Regions from separate parts of the Homo sapiens genome. Here region 1 is linked to region 2. Evidence: promoter capture Hi-C in 16 types of primary human blood cells and fetal thymus (Javierre and others, 2016). All regions are on one chromosome and are shown on one strand. The core of a region is centred on a gene start or on the middle of the fragment in contact, and the rest is flanking DNA. Distances in the headings are between cores, read along the strand shown. Region 1 overlaps TSPAN15 (tetraspanin 15). Region 2 holds the start of HKDC1 (hexokinase domain containing 1).

Region 1 (3,055 bases), core at 417-2,916, 280 kb before region 2:
CAGCCAGACTGATTCTTGTAAAACCAAGTCAGAGTGCCCCTCTTCCATGCAGCCCTGTATGGTCCATCACTCAAGGGTGCCCCACAGTCCTGCCTGTGGCCTTCGGGGTACCCATGACCTCCCTGACTCCACCTCCTACCATCCTCCGCTGTGCTCCCTCTGCTCCAGCCACTCTGTGCATTTCTCAAACGCCCTGGGGTGATTCCCACCTGGGGCCTTTGCACAGCTGTTCTTGCTGCCAGGAATGCCCCTCCCCCAGACACCTTCCTCACTTTCTTCAGAGCTTCACCCAGATCCCGCCTTTCTCAGTATCCCAAACTGCAATCCTCCATGCCCTACTTTCTTTTTCTACTCAGCATTTATGATCCTCTATCTTTTACTTATTTTGTTTGTCAGTTTTCTCCACTAGGATGTCACCTCCTTGCGGGCAGAGACTTTGTTTGCTACACCCCCAGAACCTGGAAATGTGTCTGGCATAGAGTAGGTTCTCAGCCAATATTTGTTGAATGAATGAATGAATGAATGAATACAAGTTTGGCTTCCACATCTCAGCTTAGGTATTCAGATGCTGCTGCCCTGGGTGATGAGGTTCAGGATCACCCCACGCAGGCCTCTCTGGAAACTCTGCTACTCCTCAGCACCCCACTTCCCAGAGAACTACCCTAAAATGGCAGCTAACACTTCCAAACAAAGCTTCCCTCCTGGCCCGGCCTTTTTTAGAGCTAGTGCACTTGGCACTGGCTCTCTGACTCATGGGCGAGGCCCCCACCCGCAGCTGCTCAGTTTACAGAATCCAGCAGTGGGCACAGAATGGTGGCAATGTCAGGAGAAAAACTTTCCATGACTATCTGGGCCATGAGTAATTGCAAAGCTCTCCACCTCGTTCCAATCCTGAAACAGTTTCTGGACACATTTGTCAAACACAAGGACTGATGAAGCCTTTCACTTAAGCGCTGACAACACAAGACATCATCCCAAATGACCAAGGTGACAGACCCGAGAGGATCGTGCTGGGGAGAGGAAGAGGATGGCATTTACGTCACCAGACCCCCTTCCAAGCACTCTGCTGCTGATGATCACCAGGACCTCAAGGCCAAAGACCAATGGAGATGCCCAAGGTGCAGGTCCTGCCTGCCTCCACTAATGCTGCAGAGCCAGCTACCCCCGCTAAGCTCCCCTGGCCTGGGCACCTCTCCCTCCTGCCCTCACCTGGCCTGCACAGTTCTCCAGAGTGTAGCTCAGGCAACAGCTGCCTGCACTTCATCCCAGCCCTGCCAACCTTGGGCAAGACACCCAGCCTTTGAGTGCCTCAATTTCCTCATCTGTAAAGTGGGTAAAATAACAGTACATACCTCACAGGGTTGTCGTGAATACTAAATGAGTAAATACCACCAAAGTGCCCAGAGCAGGCCTGCACAAGGTAGGTGCTCAATAGATTTTAACCAACACCACTAAGAAAGACATGGTCTCCCTACCCCCGACCCCCAGAAGCTCCACTTTCAGGAGCCCTTGAGAATCAGGAAAGCCTCCGCTCTGCCACCAACTCCTACTTCCCTGCCATCCACCCACACCACCCATCTTCAAGTTGGGAAGAGAGAAAAGAGAACATTTATACCACCTGGGGTCCCCGACAGCCCCCCAGTCCCCACAGGAGCAGTGTCTACCGTGTTCCTGATGCAGCAGGTGTAGGGCACCCCACAGGCCAGGGGTCCAGGGGCACTGCAGTCGTGGTACTGATTCTTGCTCCAATCTCGGTAGTCCTCCCCGCCACAGCACTTGAACTGAGGGAAGCAAGCAGGAAAGAGGAGCTGCCGTCATCGCCCAGGCCCTGCTCAGACGACAGGAAGGGGCCCTGTCAGGAGACGGAGGCAGTTTATTATGTGGGTCACCCTGGGGCAGGGAGAGGCTGTACACTTTCAAGTCAGAGCTGTCAAAGTGTGGCATGGCTGCCTAGAGGGTAGTGAACCCCCTGTCACTAGAGAGGTATGGAAGCCAAGGCTGGGCTGCCTCTTGGTGGGATATCAGGGTAGTGACTAGGCACTGGGAGGAAAGGTCCTTCCTTGACAACTGGCCTCCACTTTCTTCATCTTCGTGTCCCCAAATGCAGGTGCTAGGCTGGAAAAGATGGCCCTTAAAGTCCCAGAGACCAAGCATGATTCTGTGAAAGTCCCTGCACCTCAACCAACCTTCGCACCCACCCTAGGAGCCACCCCGTCCAGCTCAGCTGGCCCTGCCCTTAGCAAGGAGAGCACCCACACCTCACAACCTGCCTGGAGCTCTCCCCTTAGCCGAGCCCCTCCCTGCCTCCCCTCCCTGCTCCTGTAGGAAGTAGTTGGTAACCCTCCTGATGGCTGGTATGTGCCTGGCATTGTCCTGGGCACTGGAGAGACAGGGTGAGCAAAAGCAAGGCAGCCCTTGCTCAGGTGGAACACATTCCAGTGGAGAGACAGAGAGTGAGCACTGGATGGAAAGGTGCTGTGCAACCTGGAAATGGAGAAATAGGGGGAAAGTGGGGAGGGGCAGCTCTAGGTTGGCAGGTCATGAAAGGGCTCTTTGTAGAGAGGATATTTCATCTGAAACATGGAAACAGAAAGAAGCCAGACGACCCATGCAAAGGCCCCACGCAGAAACAAGCTTGTATTTCAGCAGCAGGTGCGGAGGCCAACAAGCCTGGAACAGAGAGAGTGCAGAGCATGAGGATGAAAGGGCGGCACAGGCTGGACCATGCAAAGCTTTGCCAGCCAGCTGAAGCAGGGAGCTGGGACTGGAGGGCTCAACCAGGGCTGCAGTACACGTCCTGGTAGCCAGACACCTTTCAGAGTCCCCACAGTGCCCCTTAAGCCACCAGGTTTTGGGACCTAGAACTGTCTTTCTGCAATGTAGTTCAAAGGGCATTTGTCTTGCAATGGAACAGACCCAAGGTCAAATCCTCAGACCACCACTCCCTGCTGTGCAACCTCAGGCAAGTTGGTCAGCCTCTCTGAGCCTCAGATGGTTGTCTGTAAAGCAAGAATAAGGATGGCAGCTCTGCACAGCTGAGCTGTGATTACATAGA
Region 2 (2,999 bases), core at 323-2,822:
GGTCTCACTCTGTCACCCAGGCTGGAGTGCAGTAGCGCAGTCTCCCGGGCTCAAGCCATCCTGCCACCGCAGCCTCCCGAGTAGTTGGGACTGTAGGCACACACCACCATGACCGGCTAATTTTTACATGTTTTGTAGAGATGGGGTTGCTCCATGTTGCCCAGGCTGGTCTCAAACTCCTGACCTCAAGTTTGAGATGAGATCTGCTCATCTCAGCCTCCCAGTGTATGCAGATTACAGCCGTGAGCCACGGTGCCTGGCCTCCTTATTCATTTTGTAAAGCAGGAGGGAGTCATGGCACAGCAGAAAGCATTGAAGGAAGAGTCAGCCAACTTGGATTTAATCCTCATTCCATCCTAAATACTTGGTGACCTTGGCTAAGTCCTCCTGCTAGGAGGACTTCTGTCATCTGCACTTTGAGAGATGCTTTTTGCCCAGGGCCGTGACAGCCAGCCGGTGTGGCCAGAGTAGCAGACTGGGCTCATTTTAGCTGCCTGGAAAGAACCCTGGTTCCCTCCTGTTGACCCTTGGCAACCTTTAACCAGCCCACTTTGGAATGAATTTTGTAGACAAGTTCCCTGAGCAAAGTGACAAAATAATGCACACCATGAATAGTGTACCATTGGCAAATAGCAGGTGCCAATAATAGATATTTCAATTACTGTCTATTGCAACTCACACCTTCTTGCTGCCCACATTTATATGCTTTCAAATACATGAACAAACAGATCTGCCCCAACAGTTCTTTTTTTTTAGATGAAGTCTCACTCTTGTCCCCTAGGCTGGAGTGCAATGGCGCGATCTCGGCTCACTGCAACCTCCACCACCTGGGTTCAAGCGATTCTCCTGCCTCAGCCTCCCGAGTAGATGGGATTACAGGTGCCCGCCACCACACCCAGCTAATTTTTGTATTTTTAGTTGAGACGGGGTTTCACCATGTTGGCCAGGCTGGTCTCGAACTCCTGACCTCAGGTAATCCGCCCACCTCGGCCTCCTAAAGTGCTAGGATTACAGGCGTGAGCCACTGCGCCCAGCCTTCTGCTCCAACAGTTCTTAAAACTTCTTTGAAAATGATTCTCCTCGCCTTTGTGGCCTTTCCGAGCAAACATCCCTTACAGCAAACACAATCCTCTTCAAGCTTTCCAAACACCCTCCTCACCCGCTTCCGCATCCAATACCTGCCAGGAAGTTCCGAGTGAAGTGTAAGGTTCAGGACAGTAATGCAATGCCCAGGAGTGTGGGAGAATTACTCCCTCTTCCCTCAGTGAGTCTTTTACTGGTCATATGCTCCCAGTATCTTTTCTAATAAGCTCTCTTCACTCCCTTCTGATTTTTTTTTTAAGGGAATCAGTTTTGTCCGTGAAGAAGGAGCTGGGCATCTCTCAGCTTCGTGGGTCCTCCTTACCTTCTTGATCTGGTCCTCCTTCAGCTTGCTGAAGTAAAATGCCATCAAGTGGACCGCAAACATTTTCCCCAAGTTTGGTTTCTCCTGAGATGGGCAGAGATTCCTGTGCAGTGTTCACTCCTACGACTCTGGAGTGTTGCACGCTTCCAGTCCAGGCTGGCAGACCTCCTGGGGAGCGAGGTGTTGCGGACTAAATACCTCCAGCCTGCTTGGTTCAATGATTAAACTCCCCCCCACCCCACCCCTTTGGTCCCTCCCTCTGGCACACACTTGATTGTCTAATAGGAGGCTCTGGATGGTAGCTGAGGTTTAGTGGAGGGGGAAGCAGGGTATTGATGGGTTGCTTGACTACTTGAGAATTGGGTGCCACCAAATCTCATTGCTAAGCAACCCTCTCAAGCCGGGGCTCTGCCAAGCCCACTCAGCCGAGGAAAATCTTCTGCGAAGTTGGGCACTAAACAAAGCCAACTTTCAACCGGTGGAGCTGCTCTGCAAATTTCCAGTCCCAGGCTTTTCTCTTTAGTTTTTTATGCCAGTGGCATAACTCTGTGACCCCCTGCTCCTCAGAAGCACTGAACTAACTAAAACTAAACATTGTCCTGGTCAATGGGATTTCAAGAATGTTGGGGCAGATTCTTCCATTTGTGACAGATCAGATCTCTTAACTAATAGCCCATGGTTAACAGAAAATGATCAATAAATGTTTACCTATTCACAGTGTTAAGCCAGAAAATCTTTAGTTCACAGGTAGTGACCCAGGAAAAAATATTCCTGAGAAAGAGTGAACTGAAGTCACCAGTGCTCACTGGGAATCACTGCTGGAGAGAAGGAAGTCACAGATAAGAAATGTCTCAGTCCAGCCGGGTGCAGTGACTCACGCCTGTAACAATCGCAGCACTTGGGGAGGCCGAGGCAGGCAGATCATGAGGTCAGGAGTTCGAGACCAGCCTGGCCAACATGGTGAAACCCCATCTCTACTAAAAATACAAAAAACTTAGCCAGGAGTGGTGGCAGGTGCCTGTAATCCCAGCTACTTGGGAGGCTGAGGCAGGAGAATCACTTGAACCTGGGAGGCAGAGGTTGCAGTGAGCCGAGATCGCGCCATTGCACTCCAGCCTGGGTGACAAGAGCAAAACTCCATCTCAAAAAAAGAAAAAAAAGAGAAATGTCTCAGGCCACTGAGATGTTTTATTCACTCACTTCTCACTCATCATACTTGACATGAGAAGGACCCAGAAAGCACCCAATACATGGGTACAATCAACCTTGCACTCTTCCCACAGTCACTGGCTGGCTAATGAAACCAATAACAACAGCGTTAACAACAGCGGCTAACATGGATGGAGCATTTACCAATCCCATTTTGTTTTTATTACTCTTGTTATTATTATTTTTTAGACAGGGTCTCATTCATCCCCCAGGCTGGAATGCAGTCGTGGAATCATGACTCGCTGCAACATCAGCCTTCTGGGCTCAGGTGATCCTCCCATCTCAATCCCCAGGGTAGCTGGGGCTACAGGCACGTGGCACCATGCCCAGCTAATTTTTGTATTTTTGTAGAGATAGGGTTTTGCCATGTTGCCCTGGCTGGTCT

What was found. Contacts are between HindIII fragments. The CHiCAGO score rates a contact against its expected background, and 5 or more counts as called.
Region 1: a contact is called between a fragment that was not itself captured here and the fragment with the promoter of HKDC1 in region 2, in 3 of 17 cell types (naive CD4 T cells, activated CD4 T cells and M0 macrophages). The highest score is 5.9, in naive CD4 T cells.

The regions. Positions count from the first base shown.
Region 1 is chr10:69,497,006-69,500,060 of GRCh38, reverse strand. It overlaps TSPAN15 (tetraspanin 15), which reads right to left. Exons shown (of 8, transcript NM_012339.5): 5 at 1,665-1,781. Among named protein-coding and RNA genes, the nearest start is that of TSPAN15, 47 kb to the right of the region's middle. The HindIII fragment of the contact is 1,941 bases long and covers 696-2,636 here.
Region 2 is chr10:69,218,905-69,221,903 of GRCh38, reverse strand. HKDC1 (hexokinase domain containing 1) reads right to left here and starts at 1,572. Exons shown (of 18, transcript NM_025130.4): 1 at 1,406-1,572. The coding sequence starts at 1,468. All of the region lies in intron 4 of LOC101928994 (a long non-coding RNA gene), which reads left to right. The HindIII fragment of the contact is 4,258 bases long and covers 1,141-2,999 here.